Linked DNA regions of Homo sapiens: regions 2, 3 and 4 are each linked to region 1. Evidence: promoter capture Hi-C in 16 types of primary human blood cells and fetal thymus (Javierre and others, 2016). All regions are on one chromosome and are shown on one strand. Each heading gives the region's core, a stretch centred on a gene start or on the middle of the fragment in contact. The rest is flanking DNA. Distances are from core to core; before and after follow the strand shown. Region 1 holds the start of FXYD3 (FXYD domain containing ion transport regulator 3). Region 2 has its middle 35 kb from the start of FXYD5. Region 3 overlaps LOC105372379 (a long non-coding RNA gene). Region 4 holds the start of FAM187B (family with sequence similarity 187 member B).

What was found. Contacts are between HindIII fragments. The CHiCAGO score rates a contact against its expected background, and 5 or more counts as called.
Region 2: a fragment that was not itself captured here is called in contact with the fragment with the promoter of FXYD3 in region 1 in 1 of 17 cell types (total B cells); the score reaches 5.3 in total B cells.
Region 3: a contact is called between a fragment that was not itself captured here and the fragment with the promoter of FXYD3 in region 1, in 2 of 17 cell types (total B cells and total CD8 T cells). The highest score is 6.9, in total B cells.
Region 4: a fragment that was not itself captured here is called in contact with the fragment with the promoter of FXYD3 in region 1 in 2 of 17 cell types (naive B cells and total B cells); the score reaches 6.6 in naive B cells.

What each region holds. Positions count from the first base shown.
Region 1 is chr19:35,114,031-35,117,335 of GRCh38, reverse strand. FXYD3 (FXYD domain containing ion transport regulator 3) reads right to left here and starts at 1,513. Exons shown (of 9, transcript NM_005971.4): 1 at 1,377-1,513; 2 at 977-1,072. The HindIII fragment of the contact is 1,620 bases long and covers 886-2,505 here.
Region 2 is chr19:35,188,331-35,191,629 of GRCh38, reverse strand. No RefSeq gene overlaps it. Among named protein-coding and RNA genes, the nearest start is that of FXYD5, 35 kb to the right of the region's middle. The HindIII fragment of the contact is 1,556 bases long and covers 922-2,477 here.
Region 3 is chr19:35,207,507-35,210,686 of GRCh38, reverse strand. All of the region lies in intron 2 of LOC105372379 (a long non-coding RNA gene), which reads right to left. Among named protein-coding and RNA genes, the nearest start is that of FAM187B, 20 kb to the left of the region's middle. The HindIII fragment of the contact is 5,425 bases long and covers 1-3,180 here.
Region 4 is chr19:35,225,950-35,229,090 of GRCh38, reverse strand. FAM187B (family with sequence similarity 187 member B) reads left to right here and starts at 352. Exons shown (of 2, transcript NM_152481.2): 1 at 352-1,132. The coding sequence starts at 411. The HindIII fragment of the contact is 1,036 bases long and covers 1,374-2,409 here.

The DNA of each region.
Region 1 (3,305 bases), core at 264-2,763:
CTGCAAGGCCCCACTATACCCCCTTCCCATGATGTCATCCAGCCAAGACTGACAGATGGTATCCTCCTCGCCCCAGCCTCTGCAAAACAACGTCCAGTCCCATGCTTCCGGAGGCTGCAGGGAGCCGGGAGCTGGGTCTGCCCTCACGTTCCCCATTCAGGCTGTTGTCTGAAGAGGCTGTGGGCTGCTCCCGAACTGATGTGGTTGGTGAGCAGGTTAGAGAGGAAGGCAGCCCTGCAGCTGATGCTCTGTCTACCTGCTCTCATCCTTCCTGGCCATGAGGTCCCAAGGCCGGCCTGAGGACTGTTTCCCCCACCTGCCCTCTGCTATCCCCTCTATTCCTCCATACCATGGGAGAATGGTCTCATGTTCAGGGGTGGGTAGAAAGATCCTGCCCGCTGTGTGCTCCTGAAATCTCCCAAGCAACTCCCCATTTAAAGCTTCCCCCAGCAGCTCCATCCTTTTTTCCTGGAGGTCTCCAGAATCCAGATCCCTCAATGTCTGGACACCCCGAGTCCACCCAGCACTCCTTATCCACCCAGATCCCTCAATGTCTGGACACCCCGAGTCCACCCAGCATTCCTCATCCACCCAGATGTCCCCAGTCCATCTACGCACCCCTGGTCCACTTAGATACCCCTACCTACCCAGGCACCCCCTCTCCTCCACCCAGCTATCCCCAACCCAGATATCCCTAATCCATGCAGACACTAGTCTTTCAGACACCCCAACCACACTTATCAGTCCTGCCCTCACCTCAGCTGGTTCAACAAGTCCCTGAGAGGAGAATGGTGGGGAAAGGGACATTAGGGGAAGGGACTTCCGTTTATCTCCTGGCTCCAGAAAAGCATTTCACAAGATTTTAGGCGCTTTAACATAAAAGCTTCTATGGGGCAGGGTCAGGGGGCAGGTAGATACTTCCTAATTTAGGGGCAGAGACAAGGAGGGCTTGGAGGAAGGGGCCCCAGCTGCTCACCTGTGTGGTTCACCAGGCTGAGCAGAGGTTCCGGGAGAAATCGGGCTGCCAGGCGGAGTCCTGCGTTTATCCGAAGCTGCCACGCCCTAAGCAAACCTGGGCAGGTAGAAAACAAGTCAGATGCCCTGAGGCCCAGGGGCTCCATTCCTGCTCTTAAAGAGACAGCTTCACCCCCTCCCCAGCCATGGGCGGCAGGTTGCTCCCTGGGGTCACCAGGACCACAGCAGCCTCAGGTGAGACGGAGAATTGGATGGGCTGGAACTCGGCCCCTGGAATTAAGGGAGGAGCTTTCTCCAATCTCCTGTGCCCAGGAGAGGACCTTGAATGGGGAAGGTTCTGGGGTCTTTAAACGGCAGAGCCTCCAGGGCCATGCAGTGAGATGATGCGTTGGTGTTCCGACCTCACTTCTTTTCCTTAGATGATGTGTTTTGCCTGGTGGAAGGATTGCTGGCAGTTGTGGAGAACTTAAAGTCCCCTTCCAGGCCACATCTTGCCGCTGGTACAATTTCAGGATCAGCAGAAGATGCTAGCGTGACCAAAGTCAGGAGATGGGGCAGGGGTGGATATGAGGGAGCGGCTGGAACAGCAGGGAGGGGTCAGGGTGGGGACTCTGGGACCTTAGTCCTGGTCATAACCTGCTCCCTGCCCTGGGGAGAATGAGAACTGTCTGCCAGGCACCAGGCTGCAGTTTCCTAGCCAGGCTCTTTCCGTGGGTGCTGGGAGCCAGACGCCTGGGTCTACAGAGTGGGTGCTGGTGGGGGCGGCTGCCTCCTAGTCCACATAAGGCCCCCAGCACTGTACAAGCCTCCCTCCCCCTTTCCTCCCCTGTCTCCTGCTCCTCCTCCTCCAGGCATTCCTTCCGGATGGGGTCTGTGCAGGCTCCCCCATGGTCCCAGTTGGGGGTGCCCCCTCCCCTCAATTCCGCCTTCTTAGACAGAGGGACTTTTGTCTGGGGGCTGGATGGAGAACAAGGATCCTTTGAGCGGTTGGCGGAGGATTGGGGTCACGGGGAGGGGTAGGGCCAGGAAAGGGGTAGCTCTGCCCTGGACACCAGCTGGACTCCAGGCGACCCCAACACCACCGTGGGGGCGGGGAGGAGGGCTGCAGGGCCTGGCCAGGGAGAAGCAGCTGCTGGGAGTGTGGAGCACAGGACAGGAAAAGGGGGTTTGGGTCAAGGCTCTTCCGGAAACTGGCCTGCTGGGGGCAGAGAGAAGGACCCCCCACTTGTCATCGCTGAGGGATCGGGGAGGGCAATGTTCGCCCAGCGCTACACCCCTTCTCTATGTGGTTCCCTGGGGCAAGTTGTCAAGCCCAGGTCCTAGACAAGGGTAAGGCTCCCTCCTACCACTCTTAAGGCGGGGCCAGTTCCCATAAGGAAGCCGGGCGGGGGGACCTCGGGGTAGGGCTCTAAGCAACAGGTCCAGGAGGAGATAGAAACAGGAAGGGGAGGCCCGGAGGCCAACTCAGTATAGCTAAGGGGGGTCTTTGTGTCTGGGCGGATAGCGTCTCTTCCCTAGACCCTTGAAGCTTGTGTCTGGGACGACCCCTTGGTGGTCTTGGGAGTGGAATGGTGTCTCCCTCTGCTGGGAAGCCTGGGAACTGCAGGCATCCGAGAGCGAGTAGGGGCGTGTACAGGGTGGCTGGGAAGGGCGGGGGGTGCTCTGCCCTTCACCGGAACGGGGTGAACTGGAGAACTGTTGTCTAAAAATCTTGGAGGAACACCCCTGCCCGTGGTTAGATACAGAAGTATTTCCCAGACAGCTTGCTAAGGGGAAAAAAAACAAGGTATTGGGAAACCGTGCAGTGTGCTACCATTTGTGAGCGGTAAAATAATGCATATGTATATACTTGTAATGAATAAAATATTTTTGGAGATTGGCATCCATACCCATGGCTTCTGGAGAGGGAAACTGGGAGGCTGGAGGGTGGGGTGGAAGTGAGACTCACTCATTATCACGTGCCCTCTTATATTTTTTGAATTTTGCATCTTGAAAATGTACTACCTTAAAGGGGTTTAATTTAAAAAATTTGGTTCAGATTTAAAAAAAAATTTGCAGGTCAAAATTTCAACCTAAGGGCTGGTTTCAACCTGGGGGACCAGCAATTAGAGACTTCTGACAACCTCTGAATGTTCTGTAGTTTTAAACACCATGATCTTACATTCTGAGGTACAGACGTTTACGGTTTTTACCCAATCCAGGTCAACCATAAATTCTTCCTAGGCTGGACGTGAACATGCTGCGTCCAAGTGTGTGTTGGGCTGGCGCTGGGGCTTGGGTTTATGGTCAGAAGGACTCTGAGACCCTAGTGTGATGAGCACACTGAGTCT
Region 2 (3,299 bases), core at 450-2,949, 74 kb before region 1:
CTTTAATCAATATTTATGGAACATCTCCCCCCAAAATAGCAGAATAAGCAGCCTTTTTACATGCACATGGAACACTCACCGTGACAAATGGAATTGTGAGTCATGAAACAGAAGTTAAAAAGTTGAAAAAATTTGAAATCATATGAAGTATGTTCTTTGACCGTTTAGAACTTTTTTTTTTTTGAGACATAGTCTCACTCTGTCACCCAGGCTGGAGTGCAATAGCACAATCATAGCTCACTGAAACCTCAAACTTCTGGGCTCACGTGAAATTTTTTGTAGAGATGAGGTCTTGCTATGTTGCCCAGGTTGGTCTTGAACTCCTTGCCTCAAGTGATCCTCCTGCTCTGGCATCCCAAAGTGCTGAGATAACAGGCATGAGCCACCATACCTGGCCAGCATTAAACTAGAAATCAATAACAGGAAGATAACAGGACAATCTTTAATCATTTGAAAAATAGGACATTCCAAAGGGAATTAGGAAATATTTGTAGCTGAAAGAAAGTAAGAAACCTATCAAAATTTGTGGAATTCTGTTAAAGAAGTGCTTATATAAAAATGTATAGTCTTAAATGTTGATTATATTAGAAAAGAAGAAAGATCTCAAGTCAATAATCTAAGTTTTCACCATAGGAAATTAGAAAATGAAGAGCAAAATAAACCCAAATGAAGAGCAAGGAAAAAATAAGTGCAAAAATCAATGAAAACAAAAAAGCAATAGAAGAAATCAGTAAAACCAAAAGCTGTTTCTTTGAAAAGATCAGTAAAATTGATAAACCTCTAACAAGACTGAGGAGAGAAGAAGGGAGAGAAAGAGATAGAGGTAGAGATAAAGAGAGAAGAGAGAGAAGGGAGGGATTATCAATATTAGGGTAGAAAGAGGACAGCTATCACCACAGACCCTATAATTATTAAAAAGCTTATAAAGGAATATCAGTAATAACTCTATACACATAAATATCAAAATTTAGATGAAATGGACCAATTTCTCAAAAACTACCAGCTACTACATTCACCACTGTTGAAATAGATAATATGAATAGTCTAGTAACTATTAAATAAATTGCATGTATAGTTAATGCCATTTTAAAAAATCTCCTGGCCCAGGTGGTTTCAATGGTTTTAAATAAGTAATTTAAAGAAGAAATAGCACTAATTCTTCATAATTTCTTCCAGAAAATACAAAAGGAGAAATACTCTCCAACTCATGTTATGAAGCCAGCATTACCCTGATGACAAACCAGATAGACAGTACAAAAAATAATAATAAACACAACTAAAATACTCCTCATGAATATAGATGCAAAAATACTCAATAAAATGTTAGCAAATTGAACTCGGCAATATGTAAAATGAGTAGTAAACTATGACCGGCCGGGCGCGGTGGCTCACACCTGTAATCCCAGCACTTTGGGAGTCTGAGGTGGGCGGATCACCTGAGATCAGGAGTTCAAGACCAGACTGACCAACATGGAGAAAACTCATCTCTACTAAAAATACAAAATTAGCCAGGCATGGTGGTGCACAGCCTGTAATCCCAGCTACTTAGGAGGATGAGGCAGGAGAATCACTTGAACCCAGGAGGCAGAGGTTGGGGTGAGCCGAGATCCTGCCATTGCACTCCAGCCTGGGCAACAAGAGTGAAACTCTGTCTCAAAATAATAATAATAATAAATGAATAAATACAATAAACTATGACCAAATGGGATTTATACTAAGAATGCAACAATGGTCCAATTTTTTAAAATCAATCACTATTACCATATTAACCATCTAAAGAAGAAAAATCATGATTATATCAATAGGTGCAGACAAAGTATTGACAAAATAAAACACTCATACATGTTTTGTTTTGTTTTGCAAAAAATAATCCTAGCAAACTAGGAATAGAAGAGAACTTCATCAACCTGATAAAGAGCATCAAAAAGCCTACAGCTAATATCATACCAAACAGTGAAAAATGAATGCTTTCTTTCTTAAGATTGGGAACAAGACAAGCATGTTCACCATTTCTATTCAACATCATATTGAAAGTCTTAGCCAGTGTAATAAGTCAAGAAATGGAAGTAAGAGGCATATAGATTGGGAAGGAAAAAATAAAACTGTTCCCATCCCCAGTTGAAATGATTGTTTATGTAGAAAATCTCAATAAATATAAAATCAATCAATAAATAAAACAAAAAACCCCTGGCACTAATAAAGAAATTTTGTAGGAAACACAAGCTAATATGGCAGATGTAAATCCAATTGTATAAATAATAACATTAAATGTTGATGAAATGAACAATTCAATTAAAAGTCAAATATTTCAGACTAGATTTTTTTTAAAAACCAAGATACAGCCAAAAGCTATCTATAGGAAAAACATGTAAGATTCAAAAATGTAAAGTAAAATGATGAAAGACAATATATCAATATATCATGCAGTGACTACAAGAAAGCTGGAGTGGCAATACTAACGTCAGAAAAAATAAGCTTTGTAACAAAAAAGTTATTACAGATAAAGAGAAGCATTGTATAATGATAAGGCGGTCAGTCCATCAGAATATATAACAATATAAACACATATACATCTAATAATAAAGCACCAAAATACATAAAGCAAAAACTAATAAAAATGAATAGAGAAATGAACAAATCCACAATAATAGTTGGAGACTTCAGTACCTCACTTCCAATAATGGATAGAACAACTAGGCATAAAATCAACAAGAAAATGGAAGATCTGAACAGTATTAATCAACCAGATATAACAGACAACTATAGCACACTTCTCCCAACAAAAGCAGAATACACAATCTTCTCGACTGCACGGAGAATATTCTGTAGGATAGAACCTGCACTAGGCAACAAAACAAATCTGTATAAAATTTTGATTTTAAAATTAAAATCAAAATCATGCGGCTGGGCACAGTGGCTCATGCCTGTAATCATAGAACTTTGGGAGGTTCAGGTGAGAGGATCACCTGAGGTCAGGAGTTCGAGACCAGCCTGGCCAACATGGCGAAACCCTGTCTCTACTAAAAATACAAAAATTAGCCAGGCATGGTGGCGATCTGCAATCTCCACCTCCTGGGTTCAAGCGATTCTCCTGCCTCAGCCTCCCAAATAGCTGGGACTACAGGCGCCCGCCACCACTCTTGGCTAATTTTTTTGTATTTTTAGTAGAGACAGGGTTTCACTATGTTGGCCAGGCTGGTCTTGAGGCCAGGCTGGTCTTGAACTCCTGACCTAGTGATCCACCCTCCTCAGCCTCCCAAAGTGCTGGGATTACAGGCATGAGCCATCGTGCTGGCCGT
Region 3 (3,180 bases), core at 146-2,645, 93 kb before region 1:
CACGGAGTCTCACTCTGTCACCCGGGCTGGAGTGCAGTGATATGATCTCAGATCACTGCAACCTCTGCCTCCCGGGTTCAAGTGATTCTCCTGAGTAGCTGGGATTACAAGCATGCGCTGTCACGCCTGGCTAATTTTTGTATTTTTGGTAGAGATGGTGTTTCACCATGTTGGCCAGGCTGGTCTCAAACTCCTGACCTCAGGTGATCGATCCACCTGCCTCAGCTTCCCAAAGTGCTGGGATTACAGGCGTGAGCCACCGCACCTGGCCCCATCATCTAGATTCTACAATTGTTAACATTTTTCTGTATTTACTTTATTACATATCTATCAGTCCATTCCTCTATCAAGTCATCTGATTTTTTAAAAATGTATTTTTAAAGAAGGTTAAAGAATTTTAAAGCAGACATCAGTACTCTTTACCCTTAAACATTTCAGGATTCATATCACCAACTGGAGTTCAATGTTTGCAGTTATCTTTGAGATTTTATAAATTTGCATGCAATGAAATGCACACATATGAAACATCCATTTGCTGAATTTCTTAGTATTGTCATTATTATTTAGAGATGCGCTCCCACTCTGTACCCCAGACTGGAGTGCAGTGGTGTGATCATAGTTTACTGCAGCCTTGACCTCCTGGGCTCAAGCGATCCTTCTGCCTCAGCCTTGAAAGTAACTGGTACTACAGAAATATGCCACCACGCCTGGCTAATTTTTTTTTTTTTTCTCCACAGGGTGAGTTCTATGCCTGGGGAATTAAAACAATTTTTTTTTTAAAAGAGATAAGGTCTTTCTGTGTTGCACAGACTGGTCTTGACCTCCTGGCCTCAAGTGATCCCCATGCATCAGCCTCCTCAGTAGCTGAGATTACAGGCATGAGCCACTGTTCCCATCTCCATTTGCTGAGTTTTGACCAATGAATGCACTTATGTAATAAGTATACGCTTCTGCTTTAGACTACAAGCCCCTGTTAAGATAAAGAACATCTCCGTGACCCCTGCAAAATCCCCTTATGCCCCTTCCCAGATAATCCCCACCTCCACTCCATCCCCAAAGGCAATCATGGTTTTGATATTTTTATACCTTTACTTTAAATTTTCAGGATGGATGACAGGTGTGTGCTGGGAGGGACCTTAGTTAAATTTTGTGATTGGCGGCTAGAATTGAAAAAAAACAAAAACAAAAACAAAAAAACAAAAAAATACCTCATTGCGGCCAGGCGTGGTGGCTCATGCCTGTAATCCCAGCACTTTGGGAGGCCAAGGTGGGCGGATAGCTTGAGGTCAGGAGTTTGAGACCAGCCTGGCCAACATAGTGAAACCCCATCTCTACTAAAAATACAAAACTTAGCCCAATGTGGTAGTGGGCACCTGTAATCTTAACTACCTGGGAGGCTGAGGCAGGAGAATTGCTGGAACCAGGAGGTTGTAGTGAGCTGAGATGGCACCACTTTACTCCAGCCTGGGCAACAGAGCAAGACTCCATCTTAAAAAAAAAAAAGAAAACCTCGTTGCTCCCTCCTGTGGAATATGGATACCTAATTAACATGATCACATACAGCAATGACTGGCTTGGAGGGGAGGAGGCATCCTCAGTGCTGAAAGGTGGGACAATGTCCACTGAGGGCTCTGGTCCTAGCACTGAATGAGCCAGGCTCTTTCAATTCCTGGATAAGCACTTGTTCACCCATTGTATGTGGACCACTTACCCTGGCTGCCTCATGTAGGATGCTGTTGGCTGCAAGTAAGAGAAGAATAAATTCCAAACATCTTAAAACAATAAGGATGCCAGGCACAGTGGCTCGTGCCTGTAATCCCAGCACTTTGGGAGGCCGAGGCAGGCAGATCGCGAGGTCAGGAGATTGAGATCATCCTGGCTAACACGGTGAAACCCCGTCTCTACTAAAAATCCAAAAAAATAACTAGGCATGGTGGCGGTCGCCTGTAGTCCCAGCTACTCGGGAGGCTGAGGCAGGAGAATGGCGTGAACTCAGGAGATTGAGATCATCCTGGCTAACACGGTGAAACCCCGTCTCTACTAAAAATCCAAAAAAATAACTAGGCATGGTGGCGGTCGCCTGTAGTCCCAGCTACTCGGGAGGCTGAGGCAGGAGAATGGCGTGAACTCAGGAGGTGGATCTTGCAGTGAGCCGAGATCGCGCCACTGCACTCCCGCCTGGGGGACAGAGCCAGACTCCATCTCAAAAAAAAAAAGCAATAAGGACACGTATTATTTTACAGAACTGCTGGTCCCCCAAAGGCGGGGAGGTTCTCCAGGGGTCAATGCATCAGTTGAATGATGTTCTTATAGACTCAGGCTCCTCAGCATGTGGGCAATGTCATCCCTCACGGTGGTAACGTGGCTGCCACAGCCCCAGCCATCATTTCCTATAGGTGCAAAGCATCACAACCGTATACTTCCTCTTGCTAAAATCCTACTCTACCCATTTCCTTTCTGTATTTTCAGTGTTTAGCCTCTCTGATTCTGCTCTTACTACTAACTCATGAGATTTCAACTCATGGCGACTATAGGTGCTCCGAAGTGCTAATGAAAGAAATTGCAGAAAGAAAAGAAGAAAAATGATGTCTTTCTCTGTGGCTTCAGAATCATCCTCAGCATCATAAAACTCTGTTTGCAAATATTCTTTGCAGGCCGCAGGGACTTCAGAGATCATCAGTATGTCTTGTCAAAGAAACTTTAACATTCCAGCATCTGTGATTCTGGGACTAATACTTAAATTGCATGTAGATTCTGAAAAGGATAAATATTTGTGAATTTTTTGTTAAACCAGAGGAATATTTTTACTACCCCCTCTTCTTCAACGTGGATGAAAGAGAAAGCAAAAACACGTGATGCTGTTAGAACTCTGCTCTAGACTAAGAGTTTGAGAGCCCAGCTTAAGCCAGCAAATGCCTCCTCACACTGCCACATTCTCTCTGCGAGGAAAAGAAAAAGTTTATTTCTCTTACATTATTATTTTTTTCTTTTTTTGAGATAGGATCTCGCTGTGTCACACAGGCTGGAGTGCAGTGGTGTGATTATGACTCACTGCAGCCTTGATCTCCCAGGTTCAGGTGATTCTCCCTCCTCAGCTTCCTTAGTAGCCAGGAATACAGGCACACACCGCCACGCCTGGCAAATTTTGTGTATCTTTTTAAAATTTTTTTGGAGATGGGG
Region 4 (3,141 bases), core at 642-3,141, 110 kb before region 1:
AGGATGGCTTGAAGCCAGGAGTTCGAGACCAGCTTGGGCAACATAACAAGACCCCGTCTCTACAGAAAAAATTTTAAACTAGCTGGGCATGGTTAGCATGCACCTGAAGTCCCAGCTACTCAACAGGCTGAGGTGAGAGGATTACTTGATTCCAGGAGTTTGAGGCTGTAGTGAGCTGTGATTGCAGCACTGCCTTCCAGCCTGGGTAAAAGAGCGAGTCCTTGTCTGAAAAAAAAAAAAAAAAGAAAAACAGTGTTGTCAGCTTGTCACAAAACAAAAGGGGATGGTGACCTCACACACACATGTGGTAGCTGCAATTCATCCCACTGCCCAGGGCTGAGGCCAGAGTTCATGGGTGACCTCACAATGTTCGGGGTGGCACCAGCCCACTGCCACAGCCCCAGTCCACCATGCCACCCATGCTGTGGCTGCTGCTCCACTTTGCTGCCCCGGCACTGGGGTTCTACTTTTCCATCAGCTGCCCCAGTGGTAAGCAGTGCCAACAGGCCCTACTCTCAGGCAATGATATTCTCCTGTATTGCAACTCCTCGGGGGCGCACTGGTACTATTTATTCACACAAGGCAAGAAGGGCAGGCTCACCAGCCTCACCAATATTTCCAATATGGAAATAATGCCCGAGGGCAGCCTTCTCATTAAAGATCCATTGCCCTCCCAGACGGGCCTCTACCACTGCTGGAACAAGAATGGCCGCCAAGTGGTGCAGTATGAAATTGACTTTCAGGATGTCACCACCCTGCATATAACACACAAGGACCTGGGTCAGAGGCCCCTGCAGAACGAGACCCTGCATTTGGGCAGCAAACAGCTCATTTTTACCTGGTGGGAGCCCTGGCAGGACTGCAACCGCTGTGAGGAGCCGGGCGAGTGTAAACGCCTGGGGTACCGCTACATTGAGGAGCCTCTGGAGGAAGCCATGCCCTGCTGGCTCTATCTGGGAGAGGTGCTGGTGTGGTCTAGCCGCTTGCGGCCTGAGCTGCAGGTGGAAGCCTGCCACGTCCAGTGCACCAATAACACACAGTTAAGGGTGGATTACGTCATTTTTGACAACTTCAGGCTCGATGAGAAGACAGAATTTGTGTGGCTCGACTGTCCCTTAGGATCCATGTACAGGTGATGGAATCCCTGCCTCTGGCCCCTACCCAGATTCTTCCGGTCAGGGGATCCTTCCTGGTAATATGTGCAGAGGGATGAGTGGGCGTTCTTTGCAGTTCAGCCACGTAGTGGTCATCAGGACAGTGCCAGGCCCTGCTCTTAAACAGTCCGAGGGGGACACAGCCCAGGGTGGTGCGAGCCGGGATGGGAGAAGCCCAGGCAGACAGATGGGGCTGTGATGGGGGAAGCCCAGGAAGCTTAGGGGCTCCAACAGGCCCCTGCTTCATCTGGAAAGGTCAGTGAGACCTTGGAGGAGAGGCTGGTGCCCCCGGGGCTTCCCATCAAGGCCTGCCTCCCAGAACTCACACTCATCTTCTTACTTCCTGCCAGGAGCCTCTGGAAAATAGCCCCTTCCCCTCCTCTCCCCCAGTCCACCTGCCCCTTAATAAGAAATGCAGGCTGGGCGCGGTGGCTCATGCCTGTAATCCCAGCACTTTGGGAGGCCGAGGTGGGTGGATCACCTGAGGTCAGGAGTTCGAGACCAGCCTGGCCAACATGGTGAAACCCCGTCTCTACTAGAAATACAAAAATTAGCCAGGTATGGTGGCACGTGCCTGTAATCCCAGCTACTCAGGAGGCTGACGCAGGAGAATCACTTGAACCCGGGAGGCGGAGGTTGCAGTGAGCCGAGATCACACCACTGCACTCCAGCCTGGGCAACATCACGAGACAACTCTGACTCAAAAAACAAAAAAACAAAAAAACCCCAGAAATCCATTGTCTCACCCTTCTGGAGGCCGTAAGTCTGAAATCAAGGTGTCAGTAGAACCACGCTCCCTCTCAGTCCCTCTGAGTGAGCTGGGCAGAATCCTCCTTTTTTCTAGCTTCTGGATGCAGTCAGAGATCCCGGTCTTCTCTGGCTTGTGGCTGCTTCTCTCCAATGCCCGCCTCCATCATCACTTGGCATTCTTCCTGGGTGTCTGTGTCCCTGTCTCTCTTTTCCTTTTCTTAAAAGGACACCGGTCAGATGGGATTGAGGGCCCACCTTATTCCAATATGCTCTCATCTCAACTGATTATATCTGCAATGATCCAATTTCCAAATAATGTTACATTCTGAGGTTCTGGGAAGGACATGCATTTTGCGGGGGCCACTGTCTAACTCAGTGCAGAGGTCTTGCCAGCCCCTGGCCACACAGGGTCATTGTGATGTGTTAAGGGGACTAAAGACTGTAGAGTGCCTGCCATAGCATCCAATAAGAAGTTCCACAATGTACCTAGCTGGGAATGCAAGCTTTTATGATATTGTCTGTGGAATATCCTCTCTGTTCTTCCACCACGCTGGGTGTGTCGGTGCCTGATTCATTTCTCCACTAAACACGTGTTCACTGCATATTTATATGCCAAGCTCCATTCTAGGGACCTGGGAAACAGTGAAGAACACAACCAACGGAGATTCTTGCCCTTGTGGCGCATAAATATATAGTTTTATTATTATTATTGTTATTATTATTAGAGACAGGGTCTTGCTCTTTCACCCTGGCTGGAGTACAGTGGCACAATCACAGCTCACTGCAGCCTCAATTCCCCGGGCTCAGGTGATTCTCCCATCTCAGCCTCCACAGTAGCTGGGACTACAGACATGCACTACCACACCCGGCTAAGTTTTTAAGTTTTGTAGAGATGAGGTCTCACTTTGTTGCCCAGGCTGAGCCCAAACTCCTGGGCTCAAGTGATCCTCCCACATCGGCCTCCCAAAGTGCTGGGATTACAAACCTGAGCCACTGTGCCCGACCTATAGTATTTTGGATGGTGACGGAGCAGGAAGGGATGCTGGGAATAGGGGAGGTTAAAAGTGTCAAGTGGTGGGGTCAGGGAAGGCTCCTCTGAGAAGCTGCCATTTCAGCCCAGACTGAAAGGAGGCGAGGAAGCCCTGGGGACAGAGGGAACAGCCAGGGCCAAGACTGCACCCAGCATGTCAGAGGAACATCTAGGAGAGCAGCGTGGCTAGGCAGAGTGAGTAAAGGG